2 separate regions of the Homo sapiens genome follow, and region 1 is linked to region 2. Evidence: promoter capture Hi-C in human tissues and cell types (Jung and others, 2019). All regions are on one chromosome and are shown on one strand. Each heading gives the region's core, a stretch centred on a gene start or on the middle of the fragment in contact. The rest is flanking DNA. Distances are from core to core; before and after follow the strand shown. Region 1 has its middle 62 kb from the start of NGF. Region 2 holds the start of NGF (nerve growth factor).

Evidence for each region. The method cuts DNA at HindIII sites, captures the fragments that hold promoters and counts their contacts. A contact is called where the count stands out against the background at its distance.
Region 1: a contact is called between a fragment that was not itself captured here and the fragment with the promoter of NGF in region 2, in 1 of the 25 tissues and cell types used here (aorta).

Annotation. Positions count from the first base shown.
Region 1 is chr1:115,398,189-115,402,772 of GRCh38, forward strand. No RefSeq gene overlaps it. Among named protein-coding and RNA genes, the nearest start is that of NGF, 62 kb to the left of the region's middle. The HindIII fragment of the contact is 3,531 bases long and covers 1-3,406 here.
Region 2 is chr1:115,336,489-115,341,026 of GRCh38, forward strand. It overlaps NGF (nerve growth factor), which reads right to left and starts at 1,761. Exons shown (of 3, transcript NM_002506.3): 1 at 1,716-1,761. The region is part of intron 1 of NGF-AS1 (NGF antisense RNA 1); the gene reads left to right. The HindIII fragment of the contact is 13,066 bases long and covers 1-4,538 here.

The DNA of each region.
Region 1 (4,584 bases), core at 391-2,890, 62 kb after region 2:
AACAAGGCATTCTACCCTCGCACAGTACCACATAATTCACAACATACGGCAAAGCACTTGTGGCAGGAGGGTGGTAAGTGGGAGGGAGAGGGAGTAGTTCAGGCACTTGACCTACAAGCTCCAAGGCAAGGGAATAGTCAGGGTGAGAGGCAACATTTGGCATCCAGGTCAGAGCAAGAACAAGTGTCAGCTTGGGCCATCCTGATGGGTAAAGACATTCATTCATTCATTCACTCACTCGTTTTTAAAACTTTTATGGAACACTGTGTGCTAGACACTATTGTACATGATGAGGATACAAAGATGAACACGTGATCCCTTTTCTCTCTTTGCTCACAGTCAAGTATGGAGAAGAGATAAGTGGATTAGTGATTGCAGTGCAACTTAATGAGTACAGATATGTACACATTATATGATGGCGTATTATACATTATACACATCCACACCTGGGTAGGCTTCCAAGAGGAGGTGATGGTCAAGATAAGCTTTGGAGCATGAATAGAAACCAATACAGAGGAGAGTTGGGGACAGAGGGAAAAATGAGTATGTATTTGAGAGCCTGCGAACAAAGAGGCCAAAGGTAATCTGGGAAAAGCAACATCTGAGAAATGCAAACAACTTGCTGTCCAAGAAAAAGATAATAGATTTGGGTCCTACGGGAAATTTCAGTCTTGGGTATTGAAACAAAAGTAGGAACTCCACTCCTGATAGTAGGTTCTCAGATCATAGCAGTGTCAAAGTCCAGTTATCTAAACTAGGGTTTAGGGCAGGGGAAAACTGGCAGAGGCCTGACCTGCACTGCATTATGGAACTGGAGCTGCTTTCCTCCTTCATTCAACAAGTATTTGCTGGGTACCTACTCTGTGTCAGGCACTGTGCTAAGTGCTGGGAATATAAAAGCAAACGTCGTCCCTGCCTTCAGCTTGAATACCTCTTGCTGCCTGCAAGTTGGCAGGATGAGCTTACTGAGTCTTACAATAGGTCTGATTCTGTTGCTGTGCTTAGAAGTATTAAGTACTTGGTATTAAGAGCTTGTGGTTATGGATCAAGTGGATCAGCTTGGGGAAAAGTCAGGGTTCAGATTGGAAGCCCAAAGCTGGCAGGGCCCACCAGAAAGGGATGGGGAAAATTAGGACCTGTTGAATTCCCATTTTCACACCAACTTTTGTGCCCAACTTGTGACTGATAAAAGTAGGCTCTGGTTTGTTTATTGTTAACCATGGATACAGGCAGTCCTGGTGATCTGGGCTTTCTGTCAGCCTGCTACATGGATGAACAAGTCACTGGTGGAAGAAGCTTGTGCTCATAGGCATTGAGGTTGTGTTTAGAACCAAAAGCTTCCCTTCTCCTTTCTCTCACTTGTTTTTGGATTCTAGCCTGTCTAGTAGTGGGAGTCTCTACCACCAAGGTTAAAATTGTGGCATTGTTCAGGGCTTAGGGTTGGCCTCAGGTATGTGAATGCTTGCTATATCTTGGTGATTTCCCAGTCCTGCTGAATGTCCTGAGGAACATGAGGAGAAGAACTGTTTCTGATCTGCCCTCCCTCTTCTCCTCTGCAGTGGCCTGAATGTTTGTGTTACCCCAAAATTACTGTGTTGAAATCCTAACCCCCAAGGTGATAGTATTAGGAGGTGGGGCCTTTGGAGAGTGATTGATTAGGTCATGAAGGTGGAGTCCTCATGATTGGGATTTGTGACCTTGTAAGAGACCCCAGAGAGCTAGCTAACCCCTTCCACTATGTAAGGACATAGCAAGAAGGTGCCATCTCTGAACAAGGAAATTGGCCCTCACCAGACATTGAATATGCTGCTGCCTTGATCTTGGACTTCTCAGCCTCCAAAACTGTGAGCAATAAATTTCTGTTGTTTATAAGCTACTCAGTCTATGGTATTTTGGTATAGAAGCCCAAATGAACTAGGACATCATCTATAATATCAAAAGCCTAATGAACTTTCAAAACCACCTCTTCCATGGAACATTTAATAATAACCATCTGTTTATCATTTAATCATCCTTCCATCTATCAATCCATCCACTCACTTATTCAACAAATATTTATTAAGTATCCACTATGTGGTAAACCTTGATCCCTACTGCAAGGAGCTTAACCCCTCCAGCCTACAGGGATCTCTTTTTCTGACCTGCTATAGTTCTCTTTGGATAGTTAGTCCCCCATTACCTCCTACTGTGACTCAACTTTTCATAGATTTATGACTGGTCTCCCGGTACAGTTATAAGCACAGCCTACAACTGTGTCTGATACTGTTCTGATATCTATCACAGGGCAAGGCCAGCATCCTGGACTTTATTGAACACACAGATAGTGTTCAATCCGTGCTTTTGAATGAATGCATGCAGGCACAAATATCTGCCAAGGTAGGAGTGGAAGGTTCCATTGGCGATTGTACTGGGGCTTTGAGACACTGACTCACCCCCTTCCCTAGCAGGCCTGCACTGGCCTGTGGATGCGGACTGAGAAATGAGGTGCTTTGCACAACGATAAGAACTGAGAACAAGGAACACAGAGTTATAATAAAACTTAAAAAAAAAAAAGTGAAACCTGGCATAGTGGCTCATGCCTGCAATCCCAGAACTTTGGGAGGCCAAGGTGAGAGGATTGTTTGCGTCCAGGAATTCAAGACCAGCCTGGGCAACATAATGAGACTCCTGTCTCTACACAAAATAAAAATAAAATATTAGCTGGTCATGGTGGTGCATACCTGTAGTCCTAGCTACTCAGGAGGCTAAGCTGGGAGGGTCACTTGAGCCTGAGAGGCTGAGGCTGCAGTGAGCTGTGATCATGCCACTGCACTCAGCCTGGGCAACAGAGTGAGAGCCTCTCTAGAAAAAGGTGAAATCTGACTCTCAACATCCTTATTGAGGATCAGTGACTGTAGCTGTTTTGTCAGAGTGCCATAGGGGCAGGTGACATCCTGCCATGTCATCAGGCTCTTACTGCAATCTGATTGGTTCTAGACCAGAAACTCTCATATGACTACAAGCCAAGGCAGGGGAAAAAGGGTGGGGTGTCTTAGTCTTGATTATCAAAACCATCAAACTTGTCTGTCTTGCAGCGCTATAGAATCTCAGGATCTCAGGTCTTGGGCACCATTTCTCACTTGTGAATTTCTGTGCTTCTAAACTGTGATAAAGGTTAGTCTTTAGTCTTTAGCAAATTCCAAGTAGAATAAGTTGGGATGCCCCAGCCTTTATCTAATTCACTCTTCCTCCCCTCTTTTCACCTTATCAGCAACCCCATTTTTAGCCATGGTGCCAGCAGTCTGATGAAAGAATCTGATAAATTTATTTGTACTGAGGTATAAAAGACACCTGCAGGTATGGCTACATTTAGGATGAAATCTCATGATAGAGAAATGAGAATCTACCAGTGGAAGCTCAGGTATCATTACTTGGCAGTAGACATGTAAGAAACATTTAGGGAAAACATAAAGTGCCTCTAAAATTACACTAATTGTCAATGAATTGGTATGTCTGATCTTCCATCTCTCCTTACCCTTGATATCAGGCAGCTCATCCTAACCTCAAATCTTTTTAAAAATCAACCTCTTAATTTTCACTATTGAGAAGAGTTGAGTAATACACAAAGGGCACAATTTCAGATACTTCTTTTTCCCAAATGCTTCTGTTTCTAGAGTGTGATCACGTGGGTCTTTAACAGAATTGGCTAGAAATGCTGAGGTTGTCAAATTTCAAAACAGAGTTACTTTTGCTGACTTAAAAGATGAACACATGCCATAAAATCAGGAGCTGTTCAGTTATCTAGTGAATTTAGGGTCATTCTAACTGTCTACACTGATAATTCAAGGCAGCAAAGTTGTCACAGTATGATTTATACTCATTGGCTGCCAGGATAATTCTGAGCTTACGAGGGGAGTGGTCAATTCTATGAGTACTGGAAATCAGAAAATACTTCTTGATTTGAACTCCTGACCCTGGAAAAGGGCCACTTTTCCCATGAAGTGTTTTCTGACTTCCAATTGACCACCCCCCTCATTGGGACACTCAACAAGGCCCCTTCCGCTAGCCTGTGAATAATCCCTTAGGCGGGGATTGGGTGATGTATATTTGTGTCCCTCATGCTTACAAAATATCGGCACAAATGGAATACAGCAAAATATTTGTGAATGAATAAATTCAGCCTCATTCACTCTGGTAGGTGATCACATCCTTTGTGGATTGAATATAAGTCACAGAAACTTTGACTAAAATCACTGTTATATCTTCACTGGTGTCACCCACTTAAGGTGCTGGATTACAGGTATGTATAGAGCAAGCTCAAGGGTAGGGACAAGGGTATGCTATCAATTTCAGCTTCCCAGATTACAGGTCAGACAAAGGATCCAGTGTATTTTGACATGCTTGGTTTGCCCGAGTTGATCAGAGCTCCAGGAACCTGTAAGGGAACACTCCAGATGCATTTATTTTAGTATTTATTAAGGTAGATAACTCAAATTTAAAGTTGAACTATTCCTTGCTGTGATTATGCAGAAACCTGGGGCTATACTTTATCTTATTCAAAATAATAGAATTCACTAGCATTGAGATAGTTCCAGTCAAGCAAGG
Region 2 (4,538 bases), core at 511-3,010:
TCTCAGCCCCCAGACCCGCCTGTCTCCTCTGACCCTCTGGAAACACTGCCCATCATGAATTGACATTTGGGTTGCTCAGGTTGACGTATGACTTATTCAACAAAAGAGACCCATCAGGTTTGATACAGCCTTTCTTCTTTCTTCTGTGACTCTGCAGAGGGAGAAAGTTTCAGACATTCAGGAGGAAACTGTAAACACAGGATAAGAAGGGCTGGCAGGGGCCAATGGCTGCTGCCCTTCTGCACTGCCTCGAGAAGGGGAAAGATTCCCTTCCAGCAGACTTAACTGACGGCTTCAAGAGTTTGAGGACCCTGGAGAGAAGTTACTGATGGGGTCTCCACTGTCATTTCTGCATTTGCAGAGTGCAGCTGGCTGTGCATGGATTGGGGAGGAGGGGACTGGCACTGGCAGTGGGTGTGCCCAGAGGATGGAGCCAGAACAATTAATCAAGTGACTTTTCTACAGGATTTCCATTGGCCTTGGATGACAGATGGGGCAGAGGCACCCAGGAGAGCACTATTTTGGTTTCCAGCTGGGAACGTGCACTAAGTTTTCCTTAATACCCACAGCACCCAAAAGGCTTTGCTGTAATACACTTTAATGCATGAAACACTCATAAATTATCCTTCGAACTGTTACAACTTCCAACCTGGAACAACTTGGAAAAACCAGCCTAGCAAGCAGGCTCTTTTTTAATCTCTCAAATCACAAGAGAAGAAAAAGTTCAAGCACGAAACACCTTCCTTAAGAATCTCGAAATTTTTTTTGTTTTGTTTTTGTTTTTTTTTTTTTTTTTTTTTTTTTTTTTTTTTTTTTTAGAAGGAGGTTTGTAATTAGAGGGAGCTAAGCTGCTTGTTTCTGCTGGCTCAAAGTTGCAGCTCCCTGACCCCTGAGTCCTCTCTCCCTCCCCTAGATCCTCCTCGCCTGAACTCAAGGCGCTCCCCGCCCTAACCTTCCACGCCCGCTTCTCCCACACCTGGCAGCAGACAGCTGGAGATGAAGCGTGTGACCCAAGTGGCAGGGCTGAACCTTGGCGACCTCTACCTGAGGTTGTCCAACGCGGCTCCGTGGAGGGCCCCGGTACGCCGGACGGACCCCGGCGTTGGCTCGCAGACTTCCTGCGTTAACCCCCGGGGCCCTCAGTCACGACTCCCAGCCCTTCCGAGACGCGCTGAGGGAACTGCCCCAGGTCTAGCGCGCCCCGTTCCGCTCCTCCCCCTACCTGGGGGCCGCGCAGCACTTTCCCTACTCGGCGCTCACCTCAGCCAGCGCGCTCTGCGCTCCCCCCGCGGTGCTGGCCGCCACTCCTCCCGCCCTGGCGCGCCAGCTGCCGGCGCATCCCTCTCCGCGCCCATTCGCTCTCCCTCACTTGCGCGTTATCCACTTCTAGCCCTCGAGCTAGACCCTGGCATGGCCGTGGGCTTCTGCAGGCGCCAGGGCTGCTCCCTGGACTGCAGGCCATCCTGGGACTAGGGACTCCACGACCAGAACTAACGCTGTTCCCTCGGTCCGACTCGTCCTCCCGCGAGGGTCCCGCGCCCCCACACCCACTCGGGACATTTCTCAGGGCTGCTCTTCGGCCTGCGGGAGCCTCGGGGGTAACCAGAGAGCTCGCCAGACCGGTATCCTTGCAAACTCTCCCGCGAAGCCCAGCCACCCCTGCCCGCGCCCGCGCTGCGCCCCTCTCGGGATCGGCTCGGGGCAGCCTGACTCACCGCTGCGCTCCCCTCCGGCTCCCAGCGCTCTCTGCTGTGCCGGAGCGCCGAGCTGCTCTCACACAGGCTTCTTGAATTCTTAGCCCCTCCTCCCGTACTCCTGAGTCACACGCTCCAAATCCTGGCCCCCATCCCTCCCCTCCCCACCACCAGCCCCGCACCTGCTGTGGCTGGGCTGTGGTGCCCGGCTGGAGGGGGTCCTGGGGACTACAGACGGATCGCTCCTGGAGGGCTGGCCAGACCCAGCCAGAGAAGGACTTTAAACCTTCAGAGGTCAAAGGGAAACCCACTGGGGTCTGAGGGGCCGCGCGCGCAAAGCCGGGAGGGGGAGTTTCTGGGGCACCGGCAGGGGTCGTTGGGCCGACTGGCTGGGGCTGGGCGGAGTTGCTCGCAGCTTCCCTCACCTCTCCGCCCTGCCCCCGCGCGTTGCCCTTCGCCAGTGCCTCCCTGGTCTGCCCGGCGTCGCCCTCGGTGCCCCAGGCATCGGCTGCTCCTTTTCTTCGGGGCGCCTTTCCTTATCCCAGGATAGGTGAGCACCCAGGGGGAGCTCCGCGAGGGGCAGGTGCCCAAGCTCCTCTGACAAGGGAAGGCGGCTGCAGAACCAGCTAGAAGGCCCCCAGGCCCGGCAAGTCCAGCATGGGGACAAGGGGCAGAGGACTTCAGGAGTCAGGAGCTAGAGCCGGGACCTTAACTTAAGGCCCTGGGTTCCAGGAACTTCCCGGAGTCCTTGGCCCCTCTGAAACTGTAGGCTGATTTGCGCGACTGTGTGCAATGCTAATATTCTTTTCTGAGCTGAAGGTCCGCAGCTTTCATCAGTTTTGCAAGGGGTCTGTGACCCCAGACTGATATAGCCAGCAAACCCTAGGCCCCCATGCCCCCCTCTCCACACTCCAGGCCCCACACAAATTCTTCCTGACCCTTCAAAATTTCTTGAGTTCCCTCGATTCAGCCTGACAGGAGAGCTTGCCTGACTTTCCCCTGCCCCTCTGCCAGGGCTGTTCCCACCCCAGCATAAAATGAGCAAGGGAGAAATACCCCTGAAGTCAAATTTGTCACCAAATGTGCATCATTAATTGTAGCATTCCAGGGGATTCGTAGCTCTTTGGAAATTTACAGCCCCACTCCCTCCCGTGTTGAGCTTGTCTGTGCCTTCGCTTCTTCCTATAGCAAAGGTGGGTTGGACCCCTACCCTGTATGGATGCCACAGAGGAGAAGTAGGTGTGAGGAGAGTAACAGGGAGGGAAGGTGGGGCACAGAATCTCCCTATTGCTGGTAACACCAGCCAGTGCAACTTAGCAGAAGGGCACCCTCCAGGGAACTGGGATTTAGTGAAGCAGATGATTCCTGTCCTAAGTCTGGGGGTGGTCATTTACCCTTAATGGATGGCACTTGAGCAAGATGAAGCCCTGACTAGGCATTTCCAACTCCCTTGATTCAGATTAGTCTTGAGGTCTTACTTCTTTCTATTTTCACGTTTGCTCCCATAAGAAAGTTCATTCCATTTACACATGCTCTGAGAAGGATGAAATAGGCAAAAAGCCCTGGAATTGGAAGTCAGCCTTAGCTTTGGTGTGACCTTGTTGTTTCCCAGCCTTAGGCTTGTCCACTTCTGACTTGTTCAGATACAGGCTGGTGTATGAACACACTTTGGAAGTGAGGGCAAGAGGCCAGGGAACACTGTGAATGGCCCTTTCTACAAAAGTAGTATCATAGTCGAGGTGATCCATTAGGAAATTTATCATCGTCAATTAAACAAAAGAATTTCCAGATAACAGGATGAATTCATCCATCAATCATGTCATGTATAAACTTGTTTGGAAAGCACTAGCCCCAAGCCTTACATAATAGCTGCCTGAGAATTTGGGTATGAAATTAAACTTTTAGAATAACAGAGAATTTGGTTGTTGAATGCAGAGCATTTGTATGTGTTCTTGTGGCATCATTCAGAAGGACAAAAGGATTTGGGACACTTGTGGTTCTTTTCCATGTGGTATGTAAGGGGGAAACTTTAAGTGATGTAAGCAGATTATAAGTTTGCTTATATGCTCCATCCTCACCCCCTAAATTGTTGGTCATATTCTTCTTGCACATGTTGATTTAATAAGAGCTCCTTTCTGCCCCTAACTACCTCTATTTCTGTCCCTGGACTTCAAGGATCTTGAGTAAATAAGAACATGTAAACAACAAACACAAAAATACTCCAAAGATTATTGATTGAGAGCCTACCATATGCCAGGCACTGTGTGCTGGCAGTGGTACCGGCTCTCAGAGAGCTTATGTTCTAGTGGGGGCTTGATTATTAGTCCCTGGCCATGTTTATCACAGTTTCCCTAGGTCCTAGCATAGGACCTGGCCTATAGTAGGTGCTCAGTTAATACTTGTTGAATCCAACAACGGTCAGAGTCATTTGTGACTGTCAGACAACCCACCAACACTGGATTGGTTTCCAGCAGGTTCCAGATCAGCCTGCCTTTGGCACAGAGACCACAGCCAGGTGCCTTTTCCCCTGCCTCTTCCACTTTCAAGAAGGTTCAAACAGAAATGTCCTTCTCTTGGGTCATTGAGAGAAGGACTTCTGGGCCTGGACCAGCTACATTCATAGGAATGAAAAACAGCTGAGAGGGCAGCGGCCAGAGGAATGGTGCAGACAAGCAGAGGATAAGAATGTTTTTCTGTACTAGATTTTCTCGAAAGAGCCTTTTATCCAGGGTATCAAAATAACCAGCAGCTGATGCATTTGCTGACTTGGAGGAGAGATTGTGGCGTGTACAGTAATTGTTGTTATTTCTGAAGATCTAGAAGGCTGCAGCCATTGAGTGCCTC